Linked DNA regions of Homo sapiens: all the other regions are linked to region 1. The links are contacts of gene promoters, found by promoter capture Hi-C in blood cells and fetal thymus (Javierre and others, 2016). All regions are on one chromosome and are shown on one strand. The core of a region is centred on a gene start or on the middle of the fragment in contact, and the rest is flanking DNA. Distances in the headings are between cores, read along the strand shown.

Region 1 (3,370 bases), core at 358-2,857:
GATAGGTTGACTGATGGGGCCATTATGTCCGGCGTCAAGTAATTTTAGAATGAAAATTATGCAATAGGTTAGACCACAGCTCAATTTTTATCACCCCAATTGCATACAACGTCCCTAATGTGATTGCCTTTGGGCTAAGATGGAAAGAAATGTTCAGTCCCAAAGTGGCTATATTTTCTGGAATAGATTGAGTGAAACGTCTCTTTTTTTCAACCAAAACACATGGAAATAAATTTCTTCGGTTTTACTTTCTAAATATCTGGTACAAGGTAAAAACTGCAGTGATTAATATGTCCTATGGGGCTGCCGGTTGGTGAGGAAAGGTTGTCAAACTTTAGATAACTCCACCAAGTTGCTATTATCATTTTTAGGCCTGGGTCAGTCAAGTAGGTAGACAAGCTTCTTGACATGTGGAATTGACTGGGACACTGGTAATTGATCCTATTTAAGAAAATGTCCTCAACGCAATGATTTTGCTTAAGTACCTTCTTATTTTAAATGTACCCCAGGACACCATAGTTGTTTCTCTCTGTGGCTTTTTAATTTCCCTTTTTGTTCCAACTGACCTTTCTAAGTTTTTTTTTTTCCTTCTGAAATAAAGAATTCTAAACTCATGATTTTACAGAAAAGCTCAGTTTGCAAGAATATCAGCAATTTCTTATTTAAATATCTTCTACTATACCCAATTGCTAGAGCATAACTCTTGGCTCCTAAACCCAATTTATAAATCAGTCATCCTTTCCACCCCTACTCACCCCAAATTTGTTCTTCTTCCTGGTGTTGCTGTCTTATTTCTTGGCACCCTCATCTACTCAACAGCAGCAGAAGAAAAGAAGAAACTTCATAGTTGGAGGATCTTCCTTCTATCTATTTATTCATCCATTCACTCAACACATATCTGTGTCAGATACTGCTCCAGGTACTAGAGACAAGCATGTACAGGACAGATATGGAACTCTGTTCTCACAGTGATTATACAGCGATTATATTCAAGTACATTTCTTCTAGAAACACTTGGTACTTCTTGCAGGGACCCCCAACCTCATATAAGTATATATACTTAAATATGTCTAACAGATCTTGATATATTACATATTTAAGTAAATAATGATAGAAAATGAATATTCTTACATGGATGCCCCAATTTCTTTCAGCTGCCTCAGATACTCACTGGATAGTGATAGCCAATGATATGCCAGACTTGATATTGATTGATAATGTTATGGCCCCACCAGGGAAGGTTAGAAGAATGGAAGCTGCTTATTTCAAATTTGAATGAGCAATCAAACATTCCTGTTCTGATTAATGTTTTTTTGCCTTGATGCACATATAAGAACTGGGACTAGCAGAAAGGGTTTAGCTTAGGACTGTGGAGAAATGCTTTTCTTCATTTCTGATAAAGCTCCATTTGCTGTTTGATCCTGTCTTCTTGATCTCCCAAGTTCCTGATAAGTCTACAAAGCTAAAACACTCACAGTTTGATCATTAGTAGTGTAGATCTTCCTCTCATTCAATGGAAGTCTTCTCTTGGAGGTCAGCAGTAAATGTCTCATTGCCGTGACCCACTGGTCAGTCCTTATGCCTCTTCATCTTTGCACATGCTGATCCCTTTCTCAGAAAGAAAGTCCCTTTAGCCAGGCATCATCTCCTTTGAGAAGCTTTCGCTGACCTCAGACTGGAGAACTCTATTATAGCATTTGACACTCCCCACAAAGGGGAGAACAGTAAGTTGCAGTCTGATGAAGTCATATGATGCCCGGGCTGGCTTATGAGTAAAGAGGTGAGAAGGTCTCCTACTGAAACAGATTTTCCCTCTTTCTTCCCCTTACAATAGCCTTTCAAAGTTCTTGAAATGTCCATTAAGGAATTCCTATACTTTACTTTTGATTTCACAATTTCTCAGTCAAAAGCTCAATATCATTGCATAGGATAATACATTACCTTAAAAAAAAAAACACCAAAAAAACCTCAACACTCAAAGATTAAATTTGTGTTTGGAAAAGGCTTTATAGGCAGTGGTACCTGGAAACTGGTGCTTGAGAGAAGCAGGAGGAGGGAGGGGAGATGTCAAATACCATCTTTTAAAAAATTTGTTTGTTTTTGATGACCATCTTTAAGAGATTTTTAAATGCCATGTATGAATTCAAGAAAGAGAATAAAGCAGGATTCTAAGAAATAATAGAAAGCTTCTTAAGGAAGCCGGTATAGTATCATTTTATATCTCTGATATTTCTGCTCATCTACTAAAGCTCATTAAAACCTATTAATGATTAGGAAATACTTATGTTTTATGAAATGTATAAAAAAATTTAAAGATAACAATCTAAACTCTCTTTAAAAATTAATTTTTATATATATCTTAACACCATTTAACACACTTAATTTTAGTACTTCTTTACTAAAGTTTGCGGAGGCAGACTACTCTTAAAAGTAGGAAAAAAAAAGGCAGAGGAGCAGACCGACTTTTTTTTTTTTTTTTTTTTTTGAGAGGGAGTCTAGCTCTGTCACCCAGGCTAGAGTGCAGTGAGTCTAGCTCTGTCACCCAGGCTGGAGTGCAATGGTGCGATCTCTGCTCATTGCAACCTCCACTTCCCAGGCTCAAGCAATTCTCCTGCCTCAGCCTCCCGAGTAGCTGGGATTACAGACTTCTGAAATTCTGAATAGTATAAATACAACTGGAATTACACTTTATTTTTAAATATACATTTCTAGGTAAAAACATAATTAAAGATCAAATAATTTTGGTTAAATTTTAAAATAAGCCCAATATGTAACTAAATAAGTCTTAGCAGAAAAATGTGAGGATAAAGTTGAGATTGCTCCTATTTTTTAATATTTATAGCATTTATTTATTTGTAATTACTTGTGAAGTTTCAAGTATTAAATATTACTCCGAGCTGTCTAATATGAGTCAGAATTTAGGGCAATAGAAAATATAAAACAAATTTTTCCTTACTAATACATGTTTTTTAAAAAGTTGTGTTTATGTTCTTCATTGAGAACTAAATAATCACTAAAAGAATTGCAGAAGTCATAAAATCATTAAATTAAGGAGAGAAAATCTCTATATATTCAGGATAAAGACATTTAGTATGCTAAGATCTCTATCCAATGGTCAAAAAACAACCAACCAAAGATGAAAATAAAAAATAATTTCTTGGAATATTATCTGAGGACTTCCAATTTTAACATGCAGAGCTAAGTGAGTATTTTCTTATTCATATCTCAGAAAAACCAACCAAAACATCAAGGGAATCAAGAAAAACAGTAATGCAAAGCTTATCCTTTGTAAAACTAGGAAACAACAGAGATTTTTAAATGAGAGAGAGAGAAGACTTAGTGGCATAGGACATAGGAAGTACCAGAGTGA
Region 2 (3,370 bases), core at 297-2,796, 740 kb after region 1:
TTTAAAAATAATTTTATCATATAGTGATATAAGCAGACCTTGAGAGGTAGATTGATGTCTGAACCATTTTTCCTCTGTGTGTCAGTTTGATATTCTTTTCTCAGCTTGCTGTTTAAGAAGCAGCAGCAGCAACAGCAACAGCAGTGAATAAACAAGTTATCACCACAGCCCTTGTTCTTACCCCTTACAGCTGGGAGCAGAGGCTGGGAGATCGATGCTGCTTGTCAGCTGTTGTGCAGAATAACATCAATATGCAATAATGGTGGCCAAAGGAGCCTGCACCCATCCGTTTTTACAAACCCAGGTGGGAAGAGCCCAACTGTCACTGTACCACATACACAGTATAGAGAATACATTCTTTAGCAGAAAGGTTGCAGCATAAAGAGAACAGTAGATGCTTGTAGTTCTTAGACTCTATTATTTTTTACTATTTCTCTGTGGCTTTAGTTCATTTAATTTTTATTCAGTTAATTCCATCCATTAGAATGGAAAACCTGTCTTGCTTCTGGAGGTATATATAGTATGTTTCATGTATATATGGTATGTTTCATGTTTTCACTTTTAAGCAGGTAGACTGAAAAAAATTATAATTAGTTGCTGATATCACAAGTTAGGTAATATATTGAGGATAGAAAAGAAAAGCTGGCTATGGCCACACAGGAGTGTTTCTTTCACTTTTGGACTACATTATCTTTGTTTTATAAAAGCCCAGTCTAACAAGACCGAATTCTTGTTGATTTCACTATAATAAAAGAAAGAAAACAACATTCTATATTAACTTAGTGTTGTAAATAACTAAAAGCAGGCAACAGATGAAAACTTATGTCTTTTTTCTTACTACTAAACTGCTTACTTTTTCTATTTACCATTTCTCACTGAAATATCTTTTATCTGAACTTTTTATCTAGAAAGCTTAGATTATTCTAAATCTTTTGGAAACAGGACTTTGTAATTTCAAATAATATAGAAGAATGTTTTTATTTTTATAATTTGAATTTGCGCCGATTTTTATAACCTAAATATTCTATTTTTTTTCTTCCTTTTACATCTAATTTCAATAGGTTAGAGTTACAGGGAAGTGTGAATGTTGGATTTCTATAAATGTTCTGAATTTATTTGTAGCGGTCTTGGTGGGAAACTACTAATGCCTTTTTTTTTTTTTTTTTTTTTTTTTTTAGTGTATAAAGCCAAATGTCCCATTTAAAGTTTGACATTTGCAATAGCATTCTATTTAAAAGGTAATCATATAGTTGCTTTCTGGTCACCTTCATTAAAATCACTCCTGATCACTCTCACTCTTAATATTTTCCTGTGCCAATCACAGTAAATTCAGAATATTAGTTCCCTGGTAATATTACTAAAAAAAGCTTTGTCATAGTATGTGTCTAGTTATCTGAAAAAATAAATGAGCCCACAACCTTTCTTGGCATTGTGAAGTCAAGCATATTCAGCCATAAATTGAGGTTACTTTTTTGTTGTTGTTGACTAATGCTAGAGGTTTTTAAAAAAAAGTTTATGTAATTTAACAGATAACATATTAATTACTGTTACCTCCCCTAACTAAAACATGAGTTACATAATCCTCTCTATTGAAAGCACCTCATTTTTAATCATTACTTACTGCTTAGTTGCCTGCAAACCACCTGTATGAGAATAACCTAGAATTTAAAAAATAAAATAAAAACATTTTTCCAGACCTGGAATTTGCATTTTTTTACAAGCTTTAAGAGATTTTTCTTAGGAGCACCACATTTGTGAGAAGCACTGCCCAAAATGAACTTGGAGGAGGGATTGTTCATACCCACAAACTATCTACTTTTCCTGCATCTTTTTTTCCCCTCTTTGGTCATCTTGGATCTAAGCTTAATATTTAATTAGGAATCTTATCATTTCTAGATTAAGTTCTTGAATCTTAAATTCGGCTGATTAAAAAATAGATTAAGTCTTGGTATTTCCTCAGTCACATGAGGAAAATCTGTGTTATCAGAGCTTTGTTTTCATGTAAGTGCCTTGGGCCAAATTTCAGTCTATTCTCTTTGTTTGGAACATTAGTATACCTATGTTAAACCAATACTTGATGAAAACCAAAGGAATTGATCACTTATGAATTTTTAAATTTTCATATAGATAGTGGCTGTTTTTCTTAAATATGCTTCCAAATGTTGGAGGAAATATAAAATGAGGAACTCTTCATATGCTGCTTGTGGGAGCATTTAGCAATATCTTTGTAAAGTTGAAGATACAATAGGCTTGAACCCAACAATTTTATTCCTAGATGCTCTAGGTAAACTCAAGACATGTAGAAAAAAGTCTTGGTTATTTTTAATAGGAAAAAAATGAAAGCAATGTAAATGTTAAGCAAGAAGAGAATGGCAAATTGTGACATAGTCATGTGATGAACTGTAAAGCTACTAAAATGAGAGCTGTGTTTATCATCATGGGTGAATATCCTACTTCAGCAAACAAATAAGTTGCATAAAGGTTATATACAGAGTAACGTATATAAAATATGTATGATATTATACCATTTATCAAAAGCTTGAAAGCAATGATAAAGTTTAAATTCTTGAATTGGTAGTAATAGTGTAAAAACATAGGAAATAAATATCAAATTCAAGATTATGCTTGCATCTTTGGAAAGAATGGAATGGAATCAGGGTATAGCTCACAAAGGACATCATCTGTATGTGTAATCAATTTTCATAAAAAACAAAGGGAAGTAAGTATGGCATAGTTTTAGATTTCAGTACAGCTGGATTGGGAGTCCAGAGATAGGATATGGAGGTTCATTTTGGTATTCCCTTGATTTTTCTGTGAATTTTGAAGCAAATGATTTTGAAATTTTTAAAAACATGCTGTTCTTTTTCTGTTAAGATTAGTCTACAATAAAGCGTATACTTGCAGTGCTCTGTTAAGAACATGGATGAATTTGTCATATCCTTTCTATTCTGTATCTTATAGTAAGTGCTTAACTATTAGTTGATGTAACAACTACAACTTAGAATCATGACCCACAGAAGCCAAACATGCTAACCAACTCAGATTACTAGCATATCTTTAAAAATGTCATATATTCCTTCCTTTGTGTACTTGGAATTGTGCAATATACAATACATGGATTATAGATGATGCAATTTTATGTGTGTGAGAGAGATTAATCAGTCTTGGAATATGATCTTGAATTTATCTTAAAATATCTGCAAATATATGATGTCCTCCAGAAGCTCATTGGGCTCCAAGTTAGAGTTTTAGCTTTGACTAAAATTTTTGACTTAAACTTCAAGAGGGCAATTGTAATAGAATAGCAAATTTTAAAAGCCAGTGATAAGCAGGATGTAGTGGCATGCAGGCCTGTAATCCCAGCTACTTG
Region 3 (3,370 bases), core at 477-2,976, 710 kb after region 1:
GTCCCTGGAGTGGACACAGGGCTTAGTGTGGCTATGCTGGGTTCCCAGGGCCTTGCTGAAATGCCAGTACACTTCTTGGCCCTTGTGAGGCCCAGAGAGCAGGATGGTGCCACAGCCTTTGAGGGTGTCCAGGGTCAGCTGGTCAAAGGTGAGAATCTTGTCCCCAGCCTTGGGGATTTGGCTGCAGGCCCAACTGCTCATGTGCAGTGCACACACCTTCAGTTTGGGCACCTCCTGAACATGGTCCCCACAACCACAGCTGTTTTGTTTTCCTGGCCAGGAAGCTTCATCTTCCAGATCATCCAGGAAAGAGACAGAGATGGCCATTTGGTGCAACTCATAAATAACCTCTTCACCACAACTTGGTTGAAGGTAGAGTTTCTTCTGGCCAGAAACATATACAGCTTAACCAACAGCCTTCAGTAGATGTCCTGGCTCTTGGGTTCCTGGTGTTGAACCTTTCAGTCATTGTTGTGGCAGGAGTCAACTTCCGTGATGGTGCCTCCTGTTCATCCAGGTCCAAAAGCAGTCTTGCTTTTTATCTGACAATCTTTGCCTTTTAAGTGGGATATTTAGATAATATGCATTTAATGTGATTGCTGATATGATTACAGTCTATTGCCTTGCCATTTTTCTATTAGTTTCACTACTTATTTGTTCCTTTTTCCACCTTCTTTTGGGTTGAGTATTTTTTTGTGATTCTATCTTATCTCCTTTGTTGACTTATTAGCTATAACTGTTTTGTTATTCTACTGGTTGCCCTAGGGCAGTATACATCTTCACCCTACCACAGTCTACCTTCAGTCTACCTGATGGTAAAGAGTTGTTTTCGTATGTCTGAAAACATCTTTATTTTGCCTTTGTTTTTTGAATGATATTTTGCTGAGGTTAACATTTTTTTCTTTCAGTACTTTATGTTCTACTGTCTCTTCACTTGCAATGTTTCTAATGAGAAATCTGCTGTCAACCTTATCTTTGTTACTCTATAACATGTGGCTGTTTTCCATATTTTTTATAATTGGCTTTGAATAATTTGATTATGACATTCCTTGGTGTAGTTTTCTTCTTGTTGAGCTTCTTGGATCTGTGAGTTAATAGTTTTTGTCCAATTTGAAAATTCTGGCCATTACTTTTTCAAATATCCCTTTTGTATCTGCCTCTCCTCTCCTTTGATGCCTCTGATTATGTTTACATAAGGATTCTGTAAGTTTGTCCCATAGCTCACTGATGCTTTTGTCATTCTTTTTTCTCTTTCATTTTTGAGTAGTTTCTTTTGCTATATCCTTCAAGTTCACTAACCTTTTCTTCTGCCATGTCTAATCTGCTACAAATACCATTAGTAGATCTCAGATATTGTAGTTTTCATCCCTAGAACTGCATTGAGTTTTTAAAAATGTCTTTCATGTCTCTACTTTCTGAAAATATAGAATATAGCTATAATAATGTTCAATGTCTTTACTAGTTCTAACATCTTTCTCTGCTTAAGGTCACTTTCAGATGATTGATTGTTTTCATCATTGTGGATTATTTTTTCTGGCTTCTTTGTGTGCCTGGCAAGGCATTGTGAATTTTATCTGTTGGCTGCTGGATAGTCTTCTGTTCCTCTAAATGTTCCTGAGTTTTGTCCTGGGATGCAGTTAAGTTACTTGGGAAAGTTTGATTCTTTGGGTCTTATTCTTGTGATTTGTCAAGGAGTGCTCAGTCTATAGCTCATTACATAAGGAATAATAATGCAATATAGCTAAATAATATACTTCAAGGCAATCTTTAAGTTTACACTTAAGTCTAATCTTAAAAGACTGCAAAAGACTTACTAAATGATCTTAGCAACAAATTTAATCCTCTAATAAAAAACATGAAAATAATAATTTCTGAAAAAAATATTCACTTTCATTAAAAACTGCAAAGCACTAGAAAGAAAAAGTGAGAGGGAGAGAAACTGAGAACAGTGGGTACTTCACAGATTAATTTTGTGAGTAAAGATGACTTCTGTTTAAGAATTGGTCTCTACTATATGAATGTATTTCATTCTGAGGATAATGGTTAAAAACAGAGACATTAGGGGCAGACAGACTTGGATGCACATCAGACTCCTCCACACATTATAACTCAACATGTATAAGCCTCAATTATCTCATCTATAAAATGCCATGTTCTTTTACAGGGTAATCTAAAAGAACAAAAACTGTTAATTTCACCAACTAAAATATACAGAAAAAAAAGGAACTTAACTATTCCCTGATAAGCAAGCAAACTATACATCTAAATTATACATCCAAATATTCTCCCCTTTTCTGGCTCCCTCACAATTTTCAAACGGTTTTGAATGAATCAACAAACATTCACAATTTTAAAAAACACATCTCTAGTGAGACTGTATGATTCAAACCCTATACACATATTATCCTTGCTTTTTTCCTTTTGATACAGCTATTATTCTATCTATATCAGGTTAGTAACACTTAATTCTAGAGGCCCATAATTTTTCATTTGAATATAAAAGATAATGGTATCTCAAATAGATTCCAATGCTAAAATTAAATTCCATGTAACTCTTTACGTACAGACAGCATACTGTTGAATAGAAGCAGTCCAAAGTGAATTACTGCTTGAACCCACAACTGACAACATAAGCCCATTATTCTTGAACAAATCTTACTTGAAAAAATCAGGTTAAATCATTTCCATTCCTAAAGCATGTATTAGCTTTTATGGCCAAATATGACTTTTTCAAGAAGACAGTACAAAAGCTGTATGAATCCCTTTTGTTTTATTCTACCAATCGCCTGTTTCAGCATTGTTACGTATTAGCAATTTTTGTTTTGCCTAATAACTGGAACTGAAAACTTACCAAACAAAATAAACTGGGGTCACTCTGTAAATCTTGACTTGGTTTTAGGTTTTTAAAAAGTAATGCAACTCATAATTTGGTAAGCATATTAGAATACCACTAGATAGGAATCTTCAATAATTAGAAATCAAGAACTTCTGCTAATTCATTTTTGTGACCTACACTCTTTTCTACCAATGAAGGCTTCATTTCAGAAGTATTGATTTGCTTATTTTTACTCCAGTTTTTTCATATTCCAGCAGCCTTTTTCATGTATCCTATCTATTCCTTTCTAAAATTCTGTTGTTCTGATCTCTGAGCTTTATGTCCCAAGCTTGAGAAACAACAACAAAAAACTCTAATAGTCTACTTTGTATCTTGAAGAGTACTAAAATATTCTTAACCTTTTAATTCTGAGAACTGGGGTGGTTGGGAGTTACCCCCAAAAAAGGTAAGAAGAAGAAGAAAGGAAAGGTGAAGGGAAGGAGAGAGGGAGGGAGAAAAAAGAGACCGTTCTTAGGATGGCTTAAAGTGGTTTTG
Region 4 (3,370 bases), core at 248-2,747, 670 kb after region 1:
TTACATACCGAAATATTTAAGTATTTCCAAATTTTTCCATCAATCCAGATAGCACATCCCTAAATAAACATCAACAATGTCCTAAGTGCAGAAATCAAGCTGGTTTTTCTTATCCTGGATTCCAGAATGTTCTGACCACTGCCCTACCACCACCACCCTCTCCCACACACAGACATTTTCACCCTTTGAGACACTGCAGTGTGAGGAAGAGAATGGAGAAAGAAAGGGAAGTCTCATGACTTCTGAAGTTGAAAGAGGAATTATGTTCTGAAAAGGAGAAAGAAGATGACAGTTTTGCTTAATTCAAATATTGAGTAAATATTGTTGCTTAATCATTTTTTAAAAGAAACATTAGTGGCTATTTTTTTGGCACAACTGTTTTTAAATTTAATTTATAAGGATGACACCATGATGTAATTGAAACTTGTATCACACACAAAAATCACTTTGCCCCTCACGCATAACAACATCCTGCTCCCCCAAACCCAAATCATACCTTTCATAATACGGCCTTAACCTGTGTCCTTAAATACAAAGCAACCTAAATGCTAAAGTGAAGAGCCTAACACAGCTAAACTGGGAAAAACATGAGGTGGAAATGTATCTCCCTTGGAAAAGTAAGTAAAATGTATGTTAAGGAAATGGGTAATTCAGGGAACCCAAATATTCAAACAAATTCCCAGATGTTTGTGCTGCTGTCTGAACGTTTTAAAGAGGAAACAGCTTTTCATTACTTCATGAATCCTCCCTCATTGTGAAGACGATTTCAAAGCCTCCAGCATTTAAAAGGGAAAGTCCGTTCTCAGAGTCGTCGGATTCCCGCTGTGTCTCAGGCACCACAATGTTCCAGAAACTCACGGAAAAAGCTCAGGCCTGTAAACATGTCTGATCTGGATCTCCCACTCCTAAGTCTGTGTTTATATATTGATAATTAAGATGGATTTATGAAGCTCAAATAATATCACATTTCATATTTCTCTAATCAGTATCTCAAAACAATTCAAACAACAGTTATTTTAACATTAACAGCATGGGGAGGACAGCCACGAATCCCCACACCTTCCCCTGGCCATCACATGCTTGCACCGGGAAGTTGTAACTAGCTCTGGCAGTGCCAATGAACAAACGCGGTTAAAAATCAAGCAGAAAACGGCTGAATGTGCACGCTCAGCTACATGATTTTCACTGTCTAAAACTGGGAAAAAAAATCTCAAACAATTTTCACCCAATTTGGCTTGCCTTTCTCGTCTGTAAATTGCAATACTGCCAAGTTACAAGTAAAATATTCTGCCAATTTCTCAGTTTTGTGAGCAAAGAAAAAAAAGAAAGCATACTTTCCCTAATGGAATAAAGTGTGTGTCTCTGTGTTTGTGTGTGTCTGTGTGTGTGTGTGTGTGTGTGTATTTATATTTGATTAATTCAACATCATATGGGACTCCTGTCCAAATTTTTCAAAATACACATACACACACATACTTTGTGTCAGATCATGAAAAGTAAATCTCAAATCCAGATTGAACTCAGAGGGACTAGGAGAAATATTGTTTGTACCTCACTTTCTACTATTGTGCAAGTTAGATAGGATCTACCACTCTTCTAGATCTTTATTCTAACATGACTCATATCACAAATGTGATCGAGTGACTAGTTTTAGCCTCCACAAAAATGAATTTAACTTCTAGAAAAGGTCCCCAAAGCAAATTGACAGCCAAAGACAGTTTCAATTCAGAAGTGCTGGTAGTCATGGTGGTAGAGGTTCTAGGGTAATGTCTCATTGAGATGCGAGGATGAGGCTCTGAACTCAGGAAGGAAACACTCAAAATGTCCTGCAGGCATTATGAACAGCAGCCACTGAATCCACTAATATCCTTCCTCAGACTTCACTGCTTTTTAAAGACAGCAAAATATTGAGATAGATTTTTAATTGTAAATTCTGAAAAACAGCCACACCCAAGACTTTAATACCTCTCTTTCTTCTCAAAGTTAGGAAAGTGGTATGCTCAGTGTCAAATAACTAATGCTCATTAAAAATGGTCAGAATGCCGTTGCAGATGAAAAGTGAAGCTCTGGTGTGTGAAACAAGAACCCAAATGCATTGTCCACAATGTCTACTTCAGTACAGCCATTCTAGAATTTGCCCATGTGCATCAAAAGCCTTAAAAAGTAGCATGCCGTCCAGGCACAATGGCTCACACCTGTAATCCAGCACTTTGGGAGGCTAAGGCGGGCAGATCACTTGAGCCCAGGAGTTTGAGACCAGCCTGGGCAACATGGTGAGACCCCCATCTCTACAAAAAATGCAAAAATAGCAGTGTGTGGTGGCGCATGCCTGTGGTCTCAGCTACTCTGGAGACTGAGGTGAGAAGATCACCTGAGCCCAGGAGGTTGAGGCTGCAGTGAGCTGTGATCACACTCCACTGCACCCCAGACTGGGCAACAGAGTGAGACCCTGTCTAAAAAAAAAAAAGTAGCATGCCATTGTACCCCATAAATAGATACGCCTACTGTGTATGTACCCACAACAATTAAAAATAAAAATAAAAAAATAAGTAGCATGCCATAAATACTAAACAGACACACACTCAGACTACAGGATACTCAATGTAGCACTATTCATAATAGAAAAAAGAGGGGAAATAAGTCAAACTTTCAACAATAAGAACATGTGCCGTAAAACTTAAAGTGTAATAATAATAAAATAAAATAAAATAAAAAATTTAAAAAATAAATAAATAAATAATAAATAAAAGAAATTTGTTAGACAAAATGTGGTACATTCTTCCATCGGTGATGATACAGAAATTTAAAAATCATGTTCTAGAACAATATTTAACAACATAAAATATTTGCATATATTATGTAGTCATAAAAGCAAGTTAAAACATATTTGGATGTTATATATGTTATCCTGCTTCATAAAGACATGAACGGAGGGATAGACATCAATGACAGCATTATCTCTGGGTGATGGCAGGGAAAGTAAATTTTATTTCCTTCGTTAGGTTTTCCTGTATTTTCCAAACTTTCTACAATGACAATACATTATTTATATAATTAGATGAATAATTTTATTTTTAAAATTAGCCGTGTGTGATCCTTACAAGAAAATTGTTTTCTTTTTCCCTCTTGGTCCTATCCCACCACTCACCCCCTAAAATGCAGCCTGAATTTCACCAAGTTTCCTGAACTCAGGTGGGTACTTTTCCTGATTATGTCAAATGGAAACAGTCCTAGAGGAAATTGGACTGTAAAAACCAAATGCTTCATAAGCTCATGTTCAAAGAAGGCAAGTAAGGACCGTGAGTGGCCAGAAGAATCTGGTGATGAAAATGAGCTATTAAATGGATTCATTACCTTGGTTTTCACTAAT
Region 5 (3,370 bases), core at 272-2,771, 650 kb after region 1:
TTTCAGACCTTAATGTGAATTGGCTAGAGGAGAAATTTGGGGACCTGAAAGAGAAACTGCTCTCAGTCATATCTCCTTAATTTTCTGTCAACCCTTTTTCAACCAGTGACTGACCTGGGTCTTTTCTAGATCCATTTCAGCAAGCCTACTTAACCACCGTATAAGAACATAACCCATAAAACACCCTCAAATTCCCAACAGAAGCTAAGGTAGCTGAAAAAAGAAGTACCTGATTTCCATGGGCACATGTTAAGTGGAAAAGTTTGCTCCCTTCACCCAAAAAAAATCTTGCCTCTGCAAGCACTAGCCTGGTACCTTCCAGAAGGTGAATAAATTAACTTGCCAATACCACTTAAGGCAAATGGCTTAATGTTTTCACCAGATCTGACCAGGCCCCAACAACAAGGAGTGGGTGGAGATGAGCGTGTATTTTCATTTATTTCACGAGCCCTATTCTCTGTGGACTTGTAGTTTCTAAACCTAGGTACAAAAAAAAGCTTTAACTGCATGAGTAACTTTTGTTTTGTGGTACATTATTGTTCACTTTCAATAATGTAACTCAAAAATGACTTATAGGATTACAAGAATATGGTATAAAATTTCTAATACAATTCAATGACCCTTAAGCAAAAACATGATCACCATCAACTGAAGTTATCCTATACAATGGCAGGAAACTGTCAAGCCCAATTATGTGAAAATGCAAGAGAAATGTTTAGACAAGCTCCTCACCAAGACTTTCCATTGCTCATACAATAGAGGAGGATTAAGATCAAAACTATAATATTATATCAGTTTTATGATTATAAAATATGCTATTCAAGTTAGTTCAACGTAGCATTGTCTGTCCTAGTACATATATTAGGATAACATTATAATGTATTTCTAAGAGGCAAATCACAGAAGCCACTTACCAATCAAAATGTGTAACTCCAGGTGAAGCTAGACAAAATTATTGATACAAATTTTCTCCAGAAGAGTGATTTAGGAATGCAAAATACTCTAGACACACCACCCATCCACAGTTGGTGTGTCTTGCTTTATTAGATGCAATCCATTTCCTCAGACACTTGTTCAATTGAGGTCTTGTAAAACTATTAGATTAGCATTGGGCATATAGTAAGTGCACAAAGAAATTTGTTGTTGTTGTTGTTGTTGTTGTTGTTGTTGTTGTTGTTTTGAGACGGAGTCTCGCTCTGTCACCTAGGCTGGAGTGCAGTGACGCGATCTTGGTTCACTACAAGCTCTGCCTCCCGGGTTCACGCCATTCTCCTGCCTCAGCCTCCCGAGTAGCTGGGACTACAAGGGCCTACCCCCGTGCCCAGCTAATTTTTTTTTGTATTTTTAGTAGAGACAGGGTTTCATGAAAGAATGAATGAGTGAATTGTTGGATAGACTAAGTATCTTCAATAAATGCAGAAAATGCCAGTGTAGAACCATATTACACTTTCTTCAAAAATGCTATTCTACTCTGCTTGTTAATTATCTCCTTAAGATAATTTCACTTTTTTAAATGTTTTAAGGCATTTGTTTTACTAGCAATGAATTAAATGTTAGTTAAGAATCTGCACGTCTAATCCATTTAGATATAGCATGTATTTTCTTCCTAGTTCATACATCTCATAAAATGCAAAAAAAAAGTATAATCCTGCTAGCATAAGTCATTAGCAGACAAAGATAAAAACTCATGAGCTCTGTGTTTTATTTTATCTCACATTCTGCTTCATAGTCCAACCAAGTTTCATAATGAAAATTTTTCTCAGCCGACGCCTCAAATGCTTTATTCTTCAAATACAATTGATTTGACCAATATCGCTGTGGTTTGGAAATGTTTTTCTTCCTGTTGGTCTCTGCCATGATCTCCTCTGGATATAGTTCAATTAGATGCCTTCTCACTTTTTCACAAGTTGCCTGTTATTGTAAAAGTTTGGGAAAACTTTGAAAAAGAACTATAAAACGTTTTCACTGTCAATAGAAAAAAATGGATTGCTTGAGCCAGACACAGCTCCCCATAGAGCTAACCTTTTGATCCTGGAATCCTTTCATGCGCTTAAGTCTTCACTAGCGTCAATGGGAGTGTTGTGTATGCAAGGGCAGCAGGATCAAGTTCAGTCTCTTCTTTAGTACTCTGTAGCCAAGTGGGGTAGCCAGCTGAATCTGGTTTAGTTAAAAAAAAAAAAAAAAAAAAAAAAACACAACACTTTCCTGATGCTTTGAAGTTTTTTGGGCAGTGTAATAATATCAGGATTTGTAGGACGTTATTTTGCATAATCCTTAATAAGATATTCTTATGGCTTCAAAAAGTTAGTGGGTTAAGAGAAGCAAGAACCTCCAGCACTCATAGGAAATATTTTTTTAAGTTCTGGGTAGAAATGGCTCAAAATGCATCTCGGGAAGATACATAATTATAAGACTGTCCAAATGTGTGTTCAGGCAGGAATGCACCTAAAACTATTCTTCATAGATGGATTTCTACTCTATCTTTAAAAGATAGAGATATAATATAATAATCTCTCAAAAGCTCTGATGAAAACAAAGAAGCTTGCTGGAGGATTCTACTATGTGTGTGGATTAAGTAACTCTGTGACTAATCCAACTATTTGAATCAAAACAAGGCATTCCTTTAGAATCTTTATCACTCTAACCTCACACTCACTCACTGATGAGGACTTTTTTCCAGGCAAGGTCAAAGGGCTGACCAAGGTGATTCTGCACCACCAAATAGAAAGGAGGCTGGAGAAGGGAGAAGTGCAGCGGCAGGATACAGAAGCCACAAAATCTCTCTGCTGGAAGCCAGTTCACCTTATTATTACCAAGAAACTGAGGTTCACTTTCTGGCATTTTGGCCTGAGCATTAAAATTTTAAATTAACACCATTGAACACAACCTACTCTTTTTTTTAATGAGCATTTTATTGTCACTTTGTGGAAGGGTACTGAAACCTCTGATTTAGTATAATCATATGATTATGATTTATTCATATTGGGAATTCAGCAGCATGGGCAACAACAACTCGGGTCTGGGGGGAAAAAAAACAGCCTCACTAAATAAGGGATGGTCCCACCACTAAATATGGGGTTAGGAGTGAGTTTCTCTTTGGTTAAATACACATGCACACATATTTCAGTAGCACGACAAAGCGAAAACAAACAGAATAAAGGTGAACATTGTACTTGGTAGTTGGAAATGAAGTGTGTCATTTTAATATATATGAATAACTGATTTTTCCCCACTTTTTGGAATCCAGATGTTGGTAATCTTTGCCTCAGAATGACGATTGCCTTTTTAAGAAATCTCTTAAAACTTTAGTAGTGGTCCTCACACAAAAAGACACTGGGTCTGGGCACGGTGGCTCATGCCTGTAATCCCA
Region 6 (3,370 bases), core at 614-3,113, 620 kb after region 1:
GCAAGCAGCACAGCAGTTTCTCTGCTCTTTTATTAAGAGCACAAAAGCTTTCCCAGGAGTCTTCCTTCCCCATTCCCTTCTTCCCAGTGGACTTCTGCTGCTTAAATCTTACTGGTCAGAACAAGGTTACTCAGCCACCCCTAGCTGCAGGGAAGCTATCCTTATCCTTAATAGAAGATATTCTGATTGGCTGAAACCAGTCAAGATCCATTGCCCGGGCTGAGTACATTGCTGCCAATATATGAACAAACTCTGGGTTCTGTTAGGGAGGAAGACTTGGGTAATGGAGAATGGGCAAGCTGGCAGCAGAGTCTGGTGCAGTTTAAGTCAATATTTCTAACCCCAATTTACACAGCAGATAAAAAGTAGAAGGACTATTTTAAGTGGAAAAGAGCCAAGATTGGCATTTGCTTGCCAGAGCATAAGATGGAAATGCAGGAAGAGCCTGGGAAGTGTCTCTCATATCTAAGGCAGAATGCTACCAGGGGTACAAACGAGTAGGGCCTGGACATCTTAGCTGCTGCTGGACCTCCAGGTCCCACCGGCCATCATGCTGACTGAACAGCCACTGTAAGAACAGGAAATGGGGTACAGACAATGAAGTCCAATGTTAAAGAGGTTTCCCTGTCCAGGAAAACAAAGGAACAATAGACTCCTACGCTTAATATTTTAAGAGTTTTGTGGTGCTTTCTGAGGACCTGAGGCCCACTTGCTCTTCCCTTAGGACATAGCTCATGTTTCATAAAGCTGGGGCGAGCAGTAGGACTGAGAAGAAAAGTGAGAAGATTCCTCCTTCCCTGCCTCTAATGAACAAACCTTGGGACTAGCAAAGGTTAATTACTTGCCTGATCCAGGCTTATTCCTTGAAAAGGAGCTGAATGACTAAACATTTGTGAACATTGAGTCGCACAGCCCATCAGCAAATGGAGCCTGCCCTACTCTAACCAGGCACATGACCATCACCTGGCCAATGGACTAATTGTAGGACTGATGCTGGATTCAGAAAAAAAGCAAGTCAGAGCTGTTCAGGAGGCTACAGGGGCTGGGGGAGTGAGAATTACAACTAAACAGGACTTAAATGTAAAATTAAAAGTTCCATGTTAGCTTTTCTGAAATAAAATATAAGTCTTTTACTTGAATAAGCTGAATAAATGCAAATGATATCAGGCAGAAAAGATCTGAGATTTGTCTATCCACTGCAAAAATTACACATGTGAATTGTTTATTCTTCTAGTGAAACATATCTAATGCTTTTCCCCTCTCATAATATTAACTTGTTTAAAGAACATTTATACGATAACATCTTGAGTTCTTTGTTTTCTAGGTTTCTCAACCAAAGTTCTCTTCTTGAAGTCTTTGTGAAAAAAAAAAATTGCTGCCTCTTTAAACTAGTGCTCAGGCATGAAAATGTTTAACTAATTTCATTTTCTTGATAAAGTTTATCTGTGATCAGAATTGAGTCATACCAAAAATACTTCTATAAGATTTGACCTTTTACTTAAATCCCACATCGAGATAATATACTCAAAATGGTTATCAATAAGACCTTTGTTTTTTAAAGCACATCTAAAATAAATCACTTTTTAAAAGCAGAAAACTGTTTTCAATTAAGTCTTTTACAGGCAATCAGCTTGAAAGTTATACTTGCCCTTGTATTTTTTATGTATATAAATTATGCCCAAGAGTGCCATGATAGCAGCATTATGCTAACTATGCCTTACCTTTGTATTTACTTCTTGTCAAAATAAGCTTTACAAATTAATTGGTTTTAGAGTGCTTTATGACCAATAATGACTGCATTATACTAGTGCCAGAGTAAAAGCAATGCAAGCAGCAACTACTTTTTCTTGTTATTGAGAAACACCTAGTCTAATTAGATAAGGATAATTAATTCTTAATTTCTTCTGATGAAGAGTTTTCTTGCAGTAGAACAACTTTACCCCATTCCAACAATGTTTATCATTTAGAAAAGCTTTAAAGAGACTTCTGCTTGAGTCTCTGACCCAAGTAATCCTGTGATACCTACACAGGGCTAACTACTAGTCTTGGCCTCCTGTATGTTTTAACCACCTCACCCTTTCATCAATGAATCCTATCTGCTCTTCAGATGCTGGGAGCATACTAGATAAGTAGATAATTTTAAAAGTATCCATTCAAAAATAGGCATTTCATGCCTATAATCCCAGCATTTTGAGAGGTTGAGGCAGGAGGATTGCTTGAGCCCAGGAGTTTGAAATGCCTGGACAACACAGCAAGATCATGTCTCTGGCTTTAAAAAAAAAAAAAAAGGCATTTCTCTTATTTTTTAAGTTTCCCATTTTTCCCCATTTGCTTTCGCCCTAGATCCCATCCATGTCAGTGGCTGCTTTTATTAGTGGCAGATTTTGCATTTTCCTTAGAGATTTACTAAGAATATCCTAGAGGAGCAAAATTCAGAACTAAACAAGAAAAAAAGAACAAAATCCAGGAATACAATAATTATATATATATTTTAATCTAAATTACTATATAATGAGTTTGCTGCTTCTAAAATTAGTGATAAGGGGCAGTTTTTTAAAAATTAGATCAAGGTTGGAAGAGATGTTTACCCAAAGGACCTAGAGATGAGAGAAGAGTCAGCGTTTGGAAAAAGCTGAGAATCTCATTAGCCCAAAGGGGTGAGTACAAGGCAGGAAAGGAAAAGCAAAGCTGAACTTTGAGAAGTTGGATAGATAGGAGCAAAGAGCAGTCCAGGATAGGGTCTCGAACAACTAGGACACCCTTTTCCAGTCCCCAACCACATAGAGGAAGGGGAAGAAGAGAAGAACAGTGACCAAGCTGAAAGTCTGAATTGAACGCACAAAAAACAGCAATAAGAATGACCATAGACTTCAGGTAAAGCCATTCTTCCTCTCAAGTCTTTCTTTTGGACCAGTTACTGGGCCCAAGATCTCTGAGAAGTTTTGCCACAGAAGTAACATCAGTACAACATGTTAGCATCCCGGTTAACTGGATTAAGAATATTAGGAGCTACATCTCCAGCCCTCTTGGATAAGCCACCTGCAAATGAAAGAGCCCCATACCTAGAACTTGCCACCCAAAAGATATGTCCCTGTGCTGTGGCCCAAACAGCTCCACCAACTGGACGAACCTATAACTTGTTGACAGCTTTCTCTCTCTGGTTCTCAGATGAGGAATGATGATAAAACAAAACCAAAAGACATCTTACTGAGGAAGATCAGCTCCAGTGGATTTCTCTGAGACAACCCAAGTTAGATGGAGCTAATGGGAAAAAACACAGGAATTCTTTAAACTATCATTCAAGCAAAACATCTCTCCTAACTGTTCCTTTTAAAGTAGCTAGACCTGTTAGAGATTTTATTGAGTGGAT
Region 7 (3,370 bases), core at 393-2,892, 600 kb after region 1:
TCTTAGGTCTTTGATCTCCTTACCCTCCTCTTCTCTCATTAGAAATAACTTCCCCCTCCCCTCTCTGCTTTTCTAAGATCTGACTTTCTTTCAGGGTCCAATTCAAATCCTTCCTCCTTTACGCAGCTTTTCTAGGCTTATCCAAGGACAGCTAGCTAGTTAATGGCAGTTGCACAATTAGAACCTGGTCCTTCTCAAACTTCTTCAGGTGGTAGGTGTCATGAAAGTAACAGCATCTTTGCAAAACACTATTAAATACTGCTACACTTAGGTTTTTTTAAAGTTAATGTGTTATGCTTAATTGGATATTTTATTTTATTTTATTCCACGTTTTTGCCTGTGACACAGCCCTCAGGAGATCCTGAGAACATGTGCCCTCAGTCAGATCTTTCTTACACTAGATTCTAGTACAGAAACAAACACCAAAGCTTTAAAAAGTATTGGGAGAAAAGCATACATAATTCTGGGAAAGTGTTTTTCTTAAAATCAAGAAAAGACACTTATTTTTCCAATATTTTAGTGGCAAAACAACTTGGTCTTGCCAGAAGAACATCAGTGTTCTACAGTTCATTTTCTTTCTCTCTCTCTCTTTTTTTTTTTTTTTTTTTGAGACGGAGTCTTGCTCTGTCACCCACGCTGGGGTGCAGTGGCACGATCTTGGTTCACTACAACCTCCGCCTCCTGGGATCAAGCGATTCTCCTGCCTCAGACTCCTGAGTAGCTGGGACTACAGGCGCGTGCCACCACGCCCAGCTAATTTTTGTATTTTTAATAGAGACAGGGTTTCACCATATTGGCCAGGATGGTCTCGATCTCTTGACCTCGTGATCTGCCCGCCTCAACCTCCCAAAGTAATGGGATTACAGGCATGAGCCACCGCGCCTGGCCCTGCAGTTCATTTTAAAGATCATTGTACTGTATGCCATCCTAAAATTCTCCTTCACTTTCCATGACTTAAGGTTCAGGTGAGGTTCAACCCCATCCTGATCTCCAAGGAGATTTGCAGAAAAATAATTTTCTCAGTATTATATGGATCTACAATAAAGTGTACTCTTTGTCATCTGTCATGTCTGTGTCATGTTTCATTTTAGAACAAAGATACCTTAGATTTATAGCCTAGGACATAGCTAATTCCAATATCCTAGGTGTAAACCCTCTTAGTTACTCCATTAGATTCTCTAGTCTCAGACTACTTTCTATACTCTGCCTCTTAACACATGTGTTCAAATTAAACAGAAAAATTCCTGATGTGTTCTTGCCTGGTGGTCCAAATTTTTAAAAATAGAAAAAGAAAAGCCTTATGTGGAGAAAAGAAGCCATTTCCACAGGCATTCTCCTAATATGGCACTAACAAAGGATCCAGGGGCTGAAATATGGCTATATCTAGAGCACCCGTGGATCTCTAGGGGTCTGTAAAGTACTCCCTTACCTCATGGTGCTTGGCACCCAAAGAGGGGCCAAAATGTTTGCTACTCATTCCTGAAGGAAATCCACCGTTGTCACCTGAGGCCTGATGAATCACACATCACACGACTCAGCAATGCACTATGGTTTAAGCTACAACCAACTGCAAAGAAAAGCAACTCCATGTTCTCCATAGAGGAGACAAGGACACAAGGGTCAGACTGATTCTCTGAGGTAAGCTAGGCCCTTTTGGAAGAGCTACTGATTCAGAATTCTGCCAGTATTCAGAAGTTGGAATACAGCTGGTCTCTTAGTCACCGATAAGGGTAGAACAAAAAGAAATGAGTGTAAACTTCACCTAGAGAAATATAAGTTAGACCAAAGGACAAATCTGTGGAAGACTCTCAGCAGGATACAATGCTCATGTGTGTGCCAAGCATTTTTAAATTAGTCAACTGTCCTCACCAGAGGCTGTGGCTAACTAAACATCATATCACCATATCCAGGCTGGGCATGGTGGCTCACGCCTGTAATCCCAGCACTTTGGGAGGCCAAGATGGGCAGACTGCTTGAGGTCAGGAGTTCAAGACAAGCCTGACCAACATGGTGAAACCCTGTCTCTACAAAAAATACAAAAATTAGCCAAGTGCGGTGGTGCACACCTGTAGTCCCAGTTACTTGAGAGGCTGAGGCATGAGAATTGCTTGAACCCAGGAGGCCGAGGTTGCAGTGAGCCGCGATCCTGCCACTGCATTCCAGCTTGGGTGACAGAGTGAGACCCTGTCTCAAAAAAAAAAAAGCATATCACTATATCCAGAAATGGTGATAAATAATATATAAGTAATACCACCATTCAATATATTCTTTAATATATTCTCATACATTCTTAACATATTCTCATATAAGTTGAATTTCAATAATATATTCAAGAATGTATTATTATGCCTTCAAGAATATATTACTGTAACTTCAAGAAAATATTGTTATGACTGGGGAACTAATATAAAAGTCTTGTTCAACCCAAAAATGGTTCCTGGGATATTTCTATACAATGTAAGAATTCAGAAATTTGGTTTTAAATGACTACTGAAATAAACCTTGTGAGGTAAGCAAGCTACATGAAGACAAATAAACCAGTGGGATTTTTTTTAAGTATGTTTATTCAAGTTGGGGAAAAGCCACATAATTCACTATATGTCAAGCCTAAACTTAGATTTTTCATCATCATCTGACAATATGTGGCAAGCACAGTTTTTGCAAAACAGTCAAACTCCCAATCAGTAATAAGGAATCTTTTAACTCAAGGTTGCATATTGTTCTTTGGCTAAAAATAGTAGAAAATCTCAATCCTTTAAATACAGAATAATCTCTCTGATCTCTCTAACTTATTTTACTTCCTGTGATCACATAATACTGAATATCTATTACGTGCCTAGTATGTGGAAAGCTTTTCTCAGCATCAAACCAAAATTTTAAATATCAAGAAAAAACAAAAAACCCTCTTAAAACTTTTTACGCTCTAAGAGGGAAGAGAAATAAAAAATAAACAAATTTTAAAAAGACTTTTTAACTCTTTAGCATGTTTTGAAAATCACATTATACGTTTTAGCATGATGTTATTAACTAATTTGTATGTATTTGTTCCCTGTCATAGTTAGTAGGAATATTTTCTCAAACTTCTGAGAATATTTAAAATCCATATTCAAATGATTTTTTTAGGAGCCTAAGACTTTACAAGAACACATTTTAGAACTGACTCTAGTCACCACAAACAAATTCAGTGATGTGTACACGCGCATGCATGAATACATACAACAGTTATGCTCCAGACACCACTCACTCTCCACAACTCCTCACTCCTCGACCTTCTACCCCCAGCCCCCTGCCCCTGGGGACGCCTGATCTCCAGTCTGGGAAAGGAAAGTGCCTCCTCCACATCCTCTCCCAGGGTCTCTCCCCAGACCTG

The links. The method cuts DNA at HindIII sites, captures the fragments that hold promoters and counts their contacts. A CHiCAGO score of 5 or more calls a contact.
Region 2: a contact is called between a fragment that was not itself captured here and the fragment with the promoter of DLEU7-AS1 in region 1, in 5 of 17 cell types (naive B cells, total B cells, fetal thymus and 2 more). The highest score is 13.7, in naive B cells.
Region 3: a contact is called between a fragment that was not itself captured here and the fragment with the promoter of DLEU7-AS1 in region 1, in 7 of 17 cell types (total B cells, fetal thymus, naive B cells and 4 more). The highest score is 10.1, in total B cells.
Region 4: a fragment that was not itself captured here is called in contact with the fragment with the promoter of DLEU7-AS1 in region 1 in 6 of 17 cell types (fetal thymus, total B cells, megakaryocytes and 3 more); the score reaches 7.7 in fetal thymus.
Region 5: a contact is called between a fragment that was not itself captured here and the fragment with the promoter of DLEU7-AS1 in region 1, in 9 of 17 cell types (endothelial precursors, naive B cells, monocytes and 6 more). The highest score is 10.3, in endothelial precursors.
Region 6: a fragment that was not itself captured here is called in contact with the fragment with the promoter of DLEU7-AS1 in region 1 in 7 of 17 cell types (total B cells, M0 macrophages, naive B cells and 4 more); the score reaches 6.7 in total B cells.
Region 7: a fragment that was not itself captured here is called in contact with the fragment with the promoter of DLEU7-AS1 in region 1 in 1 of 17 cell types (monocytes); the score reaches 5.2 in monocytes.

What each region holds. Positions count from the first base shown.
Region 1 is chr13:50,806,092-50,809,461 of GRCh38, reverse strand. DLEU7-AS1 (DLEU7 antisense RNA 1) reads right to left here and starts at 1,607. Exons shown (of 5, transcript NR_046551.1): 1 at 1,476-1,607; 2 at 756-922. It also overlaps a transcript of DLEU7 not described here. The HindIII fragment of the contact is 1,259 bases long and covers 402-1,660 here.
Region 2 is chr13:50,068,450-50,071,819 of GRCh38, reverse strand. It overlaps DLEU2 (deleted in lymphocytic leukemia 2), which reads left to right. Exons shown (of 14, transcript NR_152566.1): 3 at 191-304; 4 at 1,179-1,238. Among named protein-coding and RNA genes, the nearest start is that of DLEU1, 12 kb to the left of the region's middle. The HindIII fragment of the contact is 354 bases long and covers 1,370-1,723 here.
Region 3 is chr13:50,096,452-50,099,821 of GRCh38, reverse strand. The region is part of intron 1 of DLEU2 (deleted in lymphocytic leukemia 2); the gene reads left to right. The region is part of intron 2 of DLEU1 (deleted in lymphocytic leukemia 1); the gene reads right to left. It also overlaps the pseudogene RPL18P10. Among named protein-coding and RNA genes, the nearest start is that of DLEU1, 16 kb to the right of the region's middle. The HindIII fragment of the contact is 2,880 bases long and covers 287-3,166 here.
Region 4 is chr13:50,138,657-50,142,026 of GRCh38, reverse strand. The region is part of intron 2 of DLEU1 (deleted in lymphocytic leukemia 1); the gene reads right to left. Among named protein-coding and RNA genes, the nearest start is that of DLEU2, 15 kb to the right of the region's middle. RefSeq lists an enhancer at 470-1,143. The HindIII fragment of the contact is 7,969 bases long and covers 1-3,370 here.
Region 5 is chr13:50,155,614-50,158,983 of GRCh38, reverse strand. All of the region lies in intron 2 of DLEU1 (deleted in lymphocytic leukemia 1), which reads right to left. Among named protein-coding and RNA genes, the nearest start is that of DLEU2, 32 kb to the right of the region's middle. The HindIII fragment of the contact is 2,044 bases long and covers 500-2,543 here.
Region 6 is chr13:50,189,390-50,192,759 of GRCh38, reverse strand. The region is part of intron 2 of DLEU1 (deleted in lymphocytic leukemia 1); the gene reads right to left. Among named protein-coding and RNA genes, the nearest start is that of DLEU2, 66 kb to the right of the region's middle. The HindIII fragment of the contact is 223 bases long and covers 1,752-1,974 here.
Region 7 is chr13:50,209,110-50,212,479 of GRCh38, reverse strand. The region is part of intron 2 of DLEU1 (deleted in lymphocytic leukemia 1); the gene reads right to left. Among named protein-coding and RNA genes, the nearest start is that of DLEU2, 85 kb to the right of the region's middle. The HindIII fragment of the contact is 2,423 bases long and covers 431-2,853 here.